Linked DNA regions of Homo sapiens: region 1 is linked to region 2. The links are contacts of gene promoters, found by promoter capture Hi-C in blood cells and fetal thymus (Javierre and others, 2016). All regions are on one chromosome and are shown on one strand. The core of a region is centred on a gene start or on the middle of the fragment in contact, and the rest is flanking DNA. Distances in the headings are between cores, read along the strand shown. Region 1 overlaps CDH13 (cadherin 13). Region 2 holds the start of TAF1C (TATA-box binding protein associated factor, RNA polymerase I subunit C).

Evidence for each region. Contacts are between HindIII fragments. The CHiCAGO score rates a contact against its expected background, and 5 or more counts as called.
Region 1: a contact is called between a fragment that was not itself captured here and the fragment with the promoter of TAF1C in region 2, in 1 of 17 cell types (total CD8 T cells). The highest score is 5.2, in total CD8 T cells.

The regions. Positions count from the first base shown.
Region 1 is chr16:83,796,171-83,802,794 of GRCh38, reverse strand. It overlaps CDH13 (cadherin 13), which reads right to left. Exons shown (of 14, transcript NM_001257.5): 14 at 2,155-6,624. CDH13-AS2 (CDH13 antisense RNA 2) reads left to right here. Exons shown (of 3, transcript NR_120308.1): 3 at 5,419-5,559. Among named protein-coding and RNA genes, the nearest start is that of CDH13-AS2, 4.5 kb to the left of the region's middle. RefSeq lists a silencer at 403-562. The HindIII fragment of the contact is 354 bases long and covers 2,175-2,528 here.
Region 2 is chr16:84,182,654-84,188,595 of GRCh38, reverse strand. TAF1C (TATA-box binding protein associated factor, RNA polymerase I subunit C) reads left to right here and starts at 1,539. Exons shown (of 15, transcript NM_001243156.2): 1 at 1,539-1,695; 2 at 3,536-3,745; 3 at 4,818-4,899; 4 at 5,089-5,186; 5 at 5,263-5,352; 6 at 5,447-5,520. The coding sequence starts at 3,608. RefSeq lists a silencer at 1,344-1,553 and an enhancer at 1,199-1,699. The HindIII fragment of the contact is 17,434 bases long and covers 1,191-5,942 here.

The DNA of each region.
Region 1 (6,624 bases), core at 1,102-3,601, 390 kb after region 2:
CAAGCAAAGGTAGGGCTTAGTTACAGACACAGAACGGCAGATTTAATCTAGAAACACCACCATCCTGGTACCAGTCTTCTTGGCTTGGATTCCCATGTAAAAATCCAGCGTTGCTACCCTCTCAAGGGTGTGCCCTGGTTAGAATGAGTGGATATTTTGCCTCGCATTACCAAAGCACAAGGAGGTCTCTTTGAGGACTTGTTTGTAAAAAAATCAAACAACAACAAACAAACAAACAAAAACCTAGAAAATTGCTTTTCTCGGGGAGAATGGTGTGATCGGTGGTTGTTCTGACAATTTCACGTTCTCTTGCTTTCGGATTGAAGCATTGGTTTCTGTTTCTTATGTTCTTTTGAGGCAAATTTCCAAATTAGCGTCTCTATGACTGGCTGCCAAGGCATCCGTTTGCTATTTATTTACCCAAACTAGCAGTTTCCTGGAGACAGACTGCCTAGGGGGAAGGAAAGTTTTCTTATAGACCAGATTTGCAAGTTTGGGTTTCCTCTGCTTCATCCCCCATCATTGACAACTTGCTTAGTCCTCAGCACTTTCATGCATTGTTTGTGATGACACAGTTTGTTCCTGGAGATAAATGGGGTGGTGCTGCCTTAGCATATAGCAAGAAAAGTGCCAGGGTGGGGCCATGCATATCACTTAGTAGTCGTGAGACCTACTGTGAGATAGTTTTAACTGTGTGAACCTCAGTTTCTTCATCTATAGAATGGTGCTAATGTCTATTACATAAATTATGTATATGATATATAATTATGTATTACACATAAATTACAAATATAACTACAAGGTAATATGTATATACACATCTATATAGATACGTAAAGTATCCGGCCCGTAGGAAGCACTTAACGAATACCCCCTTCCCTTTTTTTTTTTTTTTTTCGCTTTTGAGTTGGAGTCTTGCTCTGCTCTGTTGCCCAGGCTGGAGTGCAGTGGCACTATCTTGGCTCACTGCAACCTCCGGCTCCCAGGTTCAAGAGAGTCTCCTGCCTCAGCCTCCTGAGTAGCTGGGATTACAGGTGCCCACCATTACACCTGGCTTAGTTTTATATTTTTGGTAGAGACGAGGTTTCTCCATGTTGGCCAGGCTGGTCTTGAACTCCTGACCTCAGGTGATCGGCCCACCTCTGCCTCCCAAATTGCTGGAATTACAGGCGTGAGCCACCACATCTGGCCCCCTCCTTTTTTTACAAAATGATCTCACTAACCTTCTTGCTATCTTCTCTCTCTTTCTATCTCTCTCTCTCTATCATCTATCCATCTATCCTTCTATCATCTATATATCTGTTTTTCCAAATCAGAATGATTGACTTTTATGAAAGAAGCAGAAGAGAGCCAATTATTAAGCAGGCAGCACTTGGTTTTAGTCTTGGTTTTTAAACATCATAGGCTAACCTGGTGTGGAGTCCTGATAAGTAAGCAACAATGAGGAAGGGGGGTCCCAGGTAGGGAACAACTGTTCCAAGAGACAGCTAATCACAAACAAGCCGCTGGCACAACTACCTCACTCCAAGTGTAACATCCTCCAGCACAACCCTATAAAACTTCCCTCCAGCCCCTGCCTCTTTCCAGACATCCCCTTCTCTGCTGTGCTGCCTGTTGCTTCCTTGCAACGTACTTTCCCTTGAATAATCAGCCTTTCTTTACCTACAACTGTCTTGGTAAATTGGTAAATTCTTCTTCTTCTTCTTCTTCTTCTTTTTTTTTTTTTTTGAGACAGAGTCTCACTCTGTTACCCAGGCTGGAGTGCAGCGGCGCTATCTCGGCTCACTGCAACCTCCGCCTCCCAGGTTCAAGCGATTCTCCCGCCTTAGCTTCCTGAGTAGCTGGGATTACAGGCATGCGCCACTGTGCCCAGCTAATTTTTGTATTTTTGGTAGAGATGGGGTTTCACCACTTTGGCTAGGCTGGTCACGAACTCCTGACCTCCGGTGATCTGCCCGCCTTGGCCTCCCAAAGTGCTGGGATTACAGGCGTGAGCCACCACGCCCTGCCGGTAAATTCTTTTACCATCCACAACACCGGCACCAGCCAGTTGCACCCATGACACTGTGCACCATTGGAAAAAAAGGTCCCTTTGCTCTGTCACAGTGTTTAGACCAGACTGTACTAAAGATGGTCTAAGACTAAACACACAAGTTAAAAATCCCAGATAAGCTTTATTTGAATGTTTCACAAACAAGTTGCACATTTCTCTGTAACTACATAGTAAAGCAAATGTTAGTTTACAGCTCAGAAACTGTAAGCAATTCAGCAGTGAGGGCCCAAAGGAGCGACATCTGCCATAGACTGAATATTTTAACATGATTAACTTTTATCCCTTTTGAAAAGTGTGTGTGAATAAAAAGCATTTAAAATTTCTTAAAATTTTTATCTGGGGGGATACATAAAATTTTGTCATCAGGACAGTGTTGACATGTGCATGACAACACAGATATAACTCTCTAATAATAGTCTGAATTCATGTGTACGACAGATATAGAATGGCTTTAGTACTCTCTAAAGAAAAAGCTTTTTAAAAAGTAGCAAAAAAATAGTCTCCAGTTTATTTTCATAGTGCTTCTATAAGCCCCTTTCTCCAAATCTTCATAGCTTCAGAGTGAAAACCTCCCTCGTCCTACACCACCCAACGCTTTTCACCATCTCCCTACCAATGAGACGGCACGTGGAAAGTCAAATAAAATGGTTCAAAGGCGTATCAAGCTCAGCAACCCTCCAACGATAGATGTGATGATAGCAACATAGTATGAGAGAGAGGAAATTTTTCCGCTTACTTAATTTGATGAGTATCTCAATTATTTCTGCTTAAATTATAGACTGACTCTTCTTAAATTATATAATTGAAGTTCTTATCTGAAACCCTCATACACACACCCATTCCCACCATTTTTTGCTGTCTCTCCATGTCTTGTATATGCTTTCATGTGAACACGGTCACAACTGCAGAATTTTTTCAATAGTGGGCTAATCTATTAGCAATAGGAAATATAGTAAGGGTAACACATTGCATATAGTAAAAGAATTGTTAATTGTGTTAGATGAACCATTTTGAAAGCATTTTATCATTAGACTGTGAAAATTATCAAATCTCAACAGTCAGTTAAGGAGAGAAGATGGAGGTCTTTATGAAAGATGTAGCCAGATTATTAGATTATTATTCTTAGTATTTGGTAAACAGAAAAGGTAGGTGGCTTTTTTAGTGCTTGGGTTTCCTGTTGGTGTGACTTACCCTGTTGACTCATGTTTAAGGCAGCTACACGTAAACAGATTTATGGGCTACCTTTACAAAATCAGCAACTACTTAGAGATCCTTTAGAATTTGCCCCTTTGAATGATTTATAGCAAAGCACAGTGCAAACCCTTTGAGACCCCACCCCACTTTCTCCCTCAGTTTTCTCTCCCCTCAGTTGGTTTGGTAGTGAATGGGTACTCTGGAGTTCATAAATTTCCTTTTCTTTCTTTTTTTTTTTTTTTTTTTTTGACGGAGTCTTGCTCTGTTGCCCAGGCTGGAGTGCAATGGCTCACTGCAAACTCTGCCTCCTGGGTTCAAGCGATTCTCCTGCCTCAGCCTCCTGAGTAGCTGGGGTTTCAGGTGTGCACCACCACACCCAGCTAATTTTTGTATTTTTTAGTAGAGATAGGGTTTCACCATGCTGGCCAGGCTGGTCTTGAACTCCTGACCTTAAGTGATCCACCCGCCTCTGCCTCCCAAAGGGCTGGGATTACAGGCATGAGTCACCATGCCCGGCTACTTTTGATTAACTGAGATGTTAAATTAATCTAGGAGAAGCCCCTCATCTACCTGCTAACAAGCCATGGAAGGGAAGGGGCAAATAATTACGTTATCTTGCACAGGAAAAATTTCTAAGGTCTCAATATTAATTTAGAACGATGTTAACATTTTTTTTTTTAACAGAAAGCTTTCAGATTGAAGAAGTATAGCATGAACTTAATAATAGGTAACAGAAGATACTGTTAGTAAAAGGTACTTAATAGTAAAGGGTACCTCATAGTAAAAGGTACTGTTGCTTAACAGTAAGTTGGTCTAGCTGCATAGTCACGCTAATGGAGGCTTCAAACGAGGGTCTTCCGGTCTGCAGTAGGCACTTTGTCTGGTTTTGCTCCTGGGTTGAGAGTGGCATTGTGATGTTGTCGGAAGAACATGAACCCTGGAGCCAGATAGCCTGAGGTTTGGTTCTGGAGGCCACTTACCTTGGGCAAGCCATTCAATTTTTCTGAGCCTCAGCCTTCTTTATCTGTGAGTTGGAGAAGATAGTAGTGCTTGTCTCATATGTTACTGGAGGGATTAATGAGTTACTATCTGTAAGGATTTTGTACAGTGTGGGCACATAATAAGCAGTTGATAAATATAAACCATTATTATAATTATTAATCACCTTTTTGGTACCATGTTCATACACCCCCTAGGAAAATTGTAGACTCCTTTCCTCAGAATCATCTGGAGAGCTCGTGCCTGGGTGCAACTGCACTAAATCCAGGATCAAACACAGACTTGTTAAAAATTTTTTAGTTGTCACATCTTAAGATTAAGACCCAGTGTATTTATTTGGGTAAAATGCAATTTGAGCTACTCTATGAGTGTGATGGTAGATGGTTGTTCCATTTATCAGACTGTTTTAAATGACATTCTGAAACTCTGGAATGAGCTATCAAAATTTCTAACGATGTTCTTTAAGAGCCAAAGTCTTATTTGATACCTACCATGAAATCTGGCTGGATTTATTTCGTTATAATGCTTAGATTTGCTGGTGTCGGCCAAGAGGCACAGCAGGTATATCTGCCTGGAATGATGCTCATTTGGAGAGAACTGGCGGTATTGAAGGTGACTTTTATTGAAATTAGAAAATGTGTGCATATTCTTATTAAAACAAATTATCCAAAATAATTAATTTATCGTATGTAAAATGAGGGAGAAAATGTGATTTTTAATCAACTAAGTTGGTTGAGTATTAATAAAAAGAAGTGAAGGTGTGACTATTTGCTCAGTGGAAATAAAACCCTCAGACCTGTGCTCAGTAATTGGGAAAAGCAATTTCTGGTCCTTACTTGACTTCGTTTTTTAATAAGTTGGACTCAGATAAAATGCATAGGTAATAATGAAATAACATTTTGATTCTACTATGGTTTTCAGTAAACAATGTAATATATTCCAGCAAATGAACAAAACATCTTATGATTCAGGAAATGCTACCACTTTGGCCTATAAGAATTGGTTTATTTTCCTTTTTTTCTGGAAACTATTAGGAGGAACAACATGACAGAAGTATCTCTGTCCTGATTAGAACTGTGGGGACAGAGAATATGTTTAAATAAGGGAAAGTTGAGGCATATTCTATTTATTAATGAAGTGTGCACTTTACTCCTATTTTTCTGAATTTTCAGCGAAGTTAATCTTCTGGTTCGGTTCACAAAGTGCAGGAGAGCCTACCAGCTTGAGAGAAAAGGAGTCATGCTGTATTTGTTTCCTTGAGTGAATGGCCACTCAGCTGCTGTGTTTCTCCCTGCATGTGGCTGAAGTTTACATTGGAGGGTGACTTCCTGATTGCCAGTTAGCATATGTGTCCGGCTACCAGCCGCCTGACTGGCTGAGGATGCTCTTTGTTTGTTCAAGGATGAACGTTCTCCCCCTGCCTTGCAGGAAGAGGGGAGCAAGGTGCGCCCGGGAGACGCGTGACAGTGCCCTGTAAAGCCAGTAGAGGAAATCTTGTGGAGTGTGAATGCACAGGCTTAGATTCCCCTGTCCCTGAGTCGGGGGCATGTGCTCGTGGAGAATGACCCTATCAAGTTCAAGGTGTGGCATCTCCTGATCCAGCAACAGGATTTGTTCCAGAGAAAAATCCCCAGGTCTTGGGACTGTTGACAGATGGCCATGACTATGCTTAATGTGGTCATCAACTGAGAATGGTCCGTCTCATCTTTGAGTATGCAATTACCTTTATAGCTGATTATGACACCCTCAGATCATATCATGAGGTGGACAAGATGAGTCCATGGCCCATGCTGAGAACTGGTACTTCTGTCTTCATAGACTCACTCACCAACCAGAGATGTACGACGGACCCCAAATGGTCTGTCAAAAATGTGAACTTGCACTAAGACAAGACCCAACATCAGTGACATTGGACACAAGATAGAAATCAGAGAACAGTTACTGTCCAGCAGTTTTAACCACCAATACCCATTTATTTTAATGGAAAAAAAAATCTCTGCATTCTATATGTTCCAAAAGGATTTACCATTGAAACAAATACAATATATGGAACTCTATCTGTATAATTTCACTACAACAAAGACAACATATGACTTCTACTTCCTACAGAAGGCTAACTGAAAGCACAAGTGCAAACATAGATTGCATAAGAAAGCGTGTGTGTGTGCATGTGCGGTTAAAACCTTTAGTAAGCAACTGCATTAAAATATGCTAAGACACTCACCTTACCCTAGTTCGTGGCGAGCTCTAATAAAAAGCCACAAGCTGTCACTAGTTTTATTTGATAGAAAAATTTGGTGTGAGCTTTGATGATTCATTTATGGTTTATCAACAAGAAGGTAATCTTAGAACAAGCACTAACTTTCCGCTTTTACATG
Region 2 (5,942 bases), core at 290-2,789:
TGCTTGCATGTAATCCCAGCTACTCGAGAGACTGAGGTGGGAGAATCATCTCAGCCTGGGAAGTTGAGGCTGCAATGAGCCATGATGGTACCACTGCACCCTAGCCTGGGCGACAGAGTGAGACCCTGTCTCAAAAAAATAAATAAAACAAATAAAATAGGGAGATTATCCTGGATTACCTGGGCGGGCCTACTATAATCACATGGGTCCTTACATGGGAAAGAGGGAGACAGAAGAGTAAAAACCAGAGAGATGGCCTCATGAGAAGAATCCGACTGGCATTGCTGGCTTTGAAGATGGAAAGGGGTCATGAGCCAAGGAATGCAGGCAGCTTCCAGAAGCCAGAAAAGACAAGATAGTGGACTCTTCCTTAGAGCCTCTCAAAAGGAACACAGCCCTGCTGGCACTTTTAGTCCAGGTAAAAACTTCCAGATAAAAACAATATAGGCCAGGCGTGGTGGCTCATCCTGTAATCCCAGCAATTTGGGAGGCCTAGGCAGGCGGATCACTTGAGGTCAGGAGTTCAAGACTCAGCCTGACCAACATGGTGAAACCCCGTCTCTACTAAAAATACAAAAATTAGCCGGGCATGGTGGCGCAGGCCTGTAATCCCAGCTACTCGGGAGGCTGAGGCAGAAGAATTGCTTGAACCCAAGAGGCGGAGGTTGCAGTGTGCCAAGATCGTGCCACTGCACTCTAGCCTCCATCTCAAAAAAATAAATAAAGACATAGATGACAGCTGAGAATTTGGAAATTGATTCTTTAAAGCAACGGTTCTCAAAGTATGGCCCCTGGACCAGCATCATCTGGGAACTTGCTAGAAATGCAGACTCTTGGGCCACATCCCAGATCTACTGAATCAGCAACTCGGGGGGCAGAGGTAGGGTGGAGCCTAGCAAACTTGTAACAAGCCCCCCAGGTGGTTCTAAGGCTCACTGAAGTTTGAGAAGTACTATGTTAGGATAACGGTAAGGTTCATGACTGGACAGTGGTTCTTAAAGCATGGCCCCCAGATAAGCAGTTTCAGCATCACCTGGGAACTTAGGCAAATCATCAGGTCCCACCCCAGACTCACCGAATTGGAGACTGTGTTTTAACTAGCCCCCCAGGTGCTACTGCTGACGCACGCTAGCTAGAGTTTGAAGACCACTGCCTAAAGCTCTCCCTGCCTGACCACCCCTGGAAAAGCTTCACTCTTAGTAGGTATTTGTACCCTTATTTGTAAAGCCCGCTTCTTGGGATTTAAGGACAATCAGTAGGATACCTACTGACCAATACAGGTCTGGCTTATAGTAGGTGTTCTGTGGGAGTTCGTTAAATGATTAATTTAATACAACTCTGAGGAAATTGGTGAAGTAGATGTGGGATTCGAACCTAAGTCCACCCGGCCTCCACTATTGGGACTCAAGGGAGCTTTATTTCCGCTGCCCACGCGCCGCCTGCACGCCCGTTCCCTCTCCTCCCGGGAGGGGGCGCGCCAGGACCCTAAGAGGCCTGGCTGGGAGGCGGGACTTCCTGCCTCCGCAGGAGGCACTTCCGGTCCAAACCGGAAGACCGTGGGTAGCTGCGGCGGGGCTGACCCGTCCCGAGTGCCAAAGCTGGGGTTCTACTTGAGATTTCCCTCGTGGTGCCAGGGTCCGGCGAGCATCACGCCGAGGCCCATTTTCCAGACGACCACGACGAGGCCGGGGTCACGTAAGTGCACGCATGCGCCCCCTCCGCGCGGACTGCGCGTGTTCGAGGAGCGGACCCGCAGATGTAGGAGGGGAGGGACGCCCCCAATCCCCAGTCCCCGCGGCAGGCTCACGTTTCGCAGTCCCCGGCCTGTCGTTATTGCGGATCCGACTGAGTTCTGTAGCCTTGGAGGTCTAAAGGGTCCTGGAGAGCCCGCAGCGAGGGCGGGAAGCCGGCCGGGGAAGTCGAGGCTGCCTTGTCTGAGGGCTTTTGTGGGGTCGTGCTCTCCACCAGCGCCCTCCGCCTGTCTAGGATCGTTTCAGGCTATGCGGTTCCAAGAGAAAATATTTTTGTTTCTATTTTATTTTTGAGATAGAACCTTGCTCTGTCACCCAGGCTGGAGTGCTGTGGCATGATCTTGGCTCACTGCAACCTCTGCCTCCCAGATTCAAGCGATTTTCGTGCCCAGCCTCCTCGGTAGTTGCGATTACAGGTGTACACCACCACGCCCGGCTAATTTTTGTATTTTTAGTATTGACAGGGTTTCACTGTATTGGCCGGACTGGTCTCAAACTTCTGGCCTCAGGTGATCCGCCCGCCTTGGCCTCCCAAAGTGCTGGGATTGCAGGCGGGAGCCACCGCACCCGGCCAAAGGGAAAAGATTTTTGTATAGCGAGACTCTAATGCTAGCGTTTGCATTTCGGTGCATGCGAGAGCACTGGTTCGGAGCTCTGCCTCTGAATCGGATGGGAATCAAGTCTTGGCTGTGGCAGCTAAGAGCTGTTGGACTAAAGTTCTTGCTGAGCCTTCGTTTCCTGAACTCTGTTAACAGGGACGGCGATAGAAGAGTGCAGCATTTAGCATGTGCCTGGCAGATAGATGCTGGCGCTTGGTCAGCGAGCGCTGCTGTTATTTTTGCCCCTGTTATTTTTGTTAATTAAAAAGGAGGGATGCTATGGCTGCTCATACTTCTAGAGGACTGTATTTACCAAAGCCTTGTGATGTAATTTTTTTTTTTCTTGAGATGGAGTTTCGCTCTTGTTGCCCAGGCTACAGTGCAATGGCGCGATCTCAGCTCACCGCAACCTCCGCCTCCCGGCTTCAAGGAATTCTCCTGCCTCAGCCTCCCGAGTAGCTGGGATTACAGGCATGCGTCACCACGCCCGGCTAATTTTGTATTTTTAGTAGAGACCGGGTTTCTCCACATTGGTCAGGCCAGTCTCGAACTCCCGACCTCAGGTGATCCGCCTGCCTCGGCCTCCCAAAGTACTAGGATTACCGGCGTGAGCCACCGCGCCCGGCCCCTTGTGATAGAAATTTATTTTTTTCAACCCCTAGTGCATTTTCTGGGAGGCACTGTGCTTGACAGTAGGAAGACGATGCTCAGATGCAGTCCCTGGCTGTGGAGTAACTTGAGCGTCTTGGGGGTGTAGTCTGTAAATGTATGATGACGGTACTTACGAGCCGGGAGAGAGGCTGCCCCTTGCCGTCTTTCTGACTCCATCTCCACCGCTCTCCACCTCGCTCACTCTGGCTGCCTCATTTTCTCACACACTTCACTGCTCTAGGATTTTCACAGTTGTTGACCGTTCGGCCTGGAACCCTCTTCCCAGTTGCGTACATGGTTCTCTCCTTCACTAGGTTCAGGCTGTGCTCAAACGCCACCTTCTCAACGAGGCTTTTCCTGGCTGGCTTTGCTGAAACCACGCCCTCAGCCCACTACCAGATCCCCTTCTCCTGGACGGGTGGTTGGCTTTAATACAGTTCTCACTACTGCTTGGCCTTGGGCTACATATTTGTTTTTTGTTATCTGCTTCCTCAAAGAACATATGCTTCCCGTAGTGCACTTTTCACTCCTCAGGAACTCTGGCGCCCCTTACCAGCTTCCAGTCTCTCGAGGTGGCCAGTGTGGTGCTTGGTCCTTGTTTCCAGGATGGACTTCCCCAGCTCCCTCCGCCCTGCATTGTTTCTGACCGGCCCCCTTGGTCTGAGCGACGTCCCTGACCTCTCTTTCATGTGCAGCTGGCGAGACGCACTGACTCTGCCAGAGGCCCAGCCCCAGAACTCAGAGGTGAGGATGCAGGCAGGGGGCCCTGGCAGCTCCAGGGACATCCCTTCCCTGGGTCCCCCGTCTCACATTCACATCAGTTGACAAGGCCACAGAGTGGTGGCATTCACACGAGTCTGCTGAGACACAGGCTCTGCCACCTCCTCTGGGGTACATGGGCTACCCTGCCATCCCTAGACGGATGCCCCCACTATGCCGGGTCCCTTATGAGACCGTGAGAATGCTGCCTGAATCAGTCGGTTGACCCCTCCCTTCCTGGAACGGAGAGCTGAGTTGAGCGAGAATAAACAAGTGAACTTTATCCAATGGATAAGGTGTTTACAAAATGTGATCAGAGCTTGGAATGAAAGCAGAAGGATGCTGAAACAGCATAGTAGGGTTGGGAGAGGGGAGGATAGACCTGCAGGGTTTCTGCTGCCTCTGGAGGGACACTGGCCCTTTGCTTGGAATCCTCAGCCGCCTAGTTCCCCTTGGAAACACCCTGTCTGGGAATGAAGCCTGGCAGAGGCAAGTGGGTGAGCAAATAAAAAGAGAGACAGTGGAGCAGAGGCTTGGGGAACGGGGGTCAGGGATGGCATCCTTACGAGGGAGGGTCTGGCGTCAAATTGGGGCTCCTCTGGGAGTCTGGTTTCCTAGCTCTTTTGTCCCCTGAATGTCTGGGCCGAAACATCCCAGGCCAGCCCAGCAAAGGGAGGTGGAGCCGCCTGCCGGGCTCCCAGAGTGACTGCAAGGTCTCCTGAATGGAAGTGAGGTTACGTGAGATGTGGACCAGCCACTGGTGGCATGAGGGGCTTCCTTCTTTGAGAGCCAGCACAGGTGGAGGTCGGAAACAGGAGCTCTGGGGTCAGGCTGCCTGGGTTCACATCCCAGCTCTTCTCTTTACCGGCTCTGTCTTCTGGGGCAAATGGCAGTGTGCCTCAGTTTCTTCAGCAGTAAAATGACAATGCCAGTCATCCCAGCTTCGCAGGATTGTTGTGAGGATTGGATGAGTTGATAAGAGATGAATGCCTGTGCACAGCCTGGCCCAGGGAGGGCATTCATCATGATACTGTCCTTGCGATTGTCCTCCCTTCAGAATGGGGCACTGCATGTGACCAAGGACCTGCTGTGGGAGCCGGCAACCCCTGGGCCTCTCCCCATGCTGCCTCCCCTCATCGGTAAGGGTCTCATTCCCCCGGGCTCACTCCACACTGCTCCACCTATTCTTCCCACTGCTCCCGCTCCTGAGACCTTCCTCTCCCTGCTAAGCCTGTGCCTGCTCAGGACCCTTGGATACCTCCAGTCGCCCAGGGCATCTGGCCGCACTCCTGTGCCCTCCCCAGCCCTTTCCGTAACCTCCTTCTCAGATCCCTGGGACCCTGGCCTGACTGCCCGGGACCTGCTTTTCCGCGGAGGGTGCCGGTATCGGAAGCGGCCCCGAGTCGTGCTGGATGTGACTGAGCAGGTGAGTGGGCCCACGGGGGACAGTGCTGCGTAGCCTGGAGACTGTGCTTAGTGACCTGGCCTCCTCTTCTCCCCAGATCAGCCGGTTCCTCTTGGATCATGGAGACGTAGCCTTTGCGCCCCTGGGGAAGCTGATGCTGGAGAATTTCAAGCTGGAGGGAGCGGGGGTGAGTGGCCCGTGACTCCAGGGGTGGGGACTCCCTGCTGTCCTTCAGGGGTGAACTCGAGGGTGTGTGAGCCTGACAAGGCCTTTCCATGCAGAGCCGCACTAAGAAGAAGACAGTGGTCAGTGTGAAGAAGCTGCTCCAGGACCTCGGTGGACACCAGCCCTGGGGGCAAGTGGCTGATGAGAAAGGAGGAGATGGATAGGCATAGCTGGTGGTGGGGATGTAGGAGGTGCTAGGACGCACGTACAGCTTTCCGTCATACCCACTTCCCCCCTGCTCCATGCAGTCTGAGCTGTACTTTCTTATACCAGACTTCCAACTCCAAATCATCTCAGGGGAAAGCAGATTTACATTTGTGGAGTTCAGGCACAGCTGCATCCAGGTGTTCAAATAATGTTCATAGAGCTGTGTCTCTCTTTCCTGTCTCGTCCACTTGCCTCTCCCTGCACAGTTCCCTAGACAGGCTGTCTCTAGGTAGCAGCAAGATGGCTTATGATCTAAGGAAAGAGCCAGTGTCCTTCCTGCGGCACCAGAAGTCCCAGAAAGGACTTTGGTTGGCTTGGCTTGGGTCTCACACCCATCTGTGAACC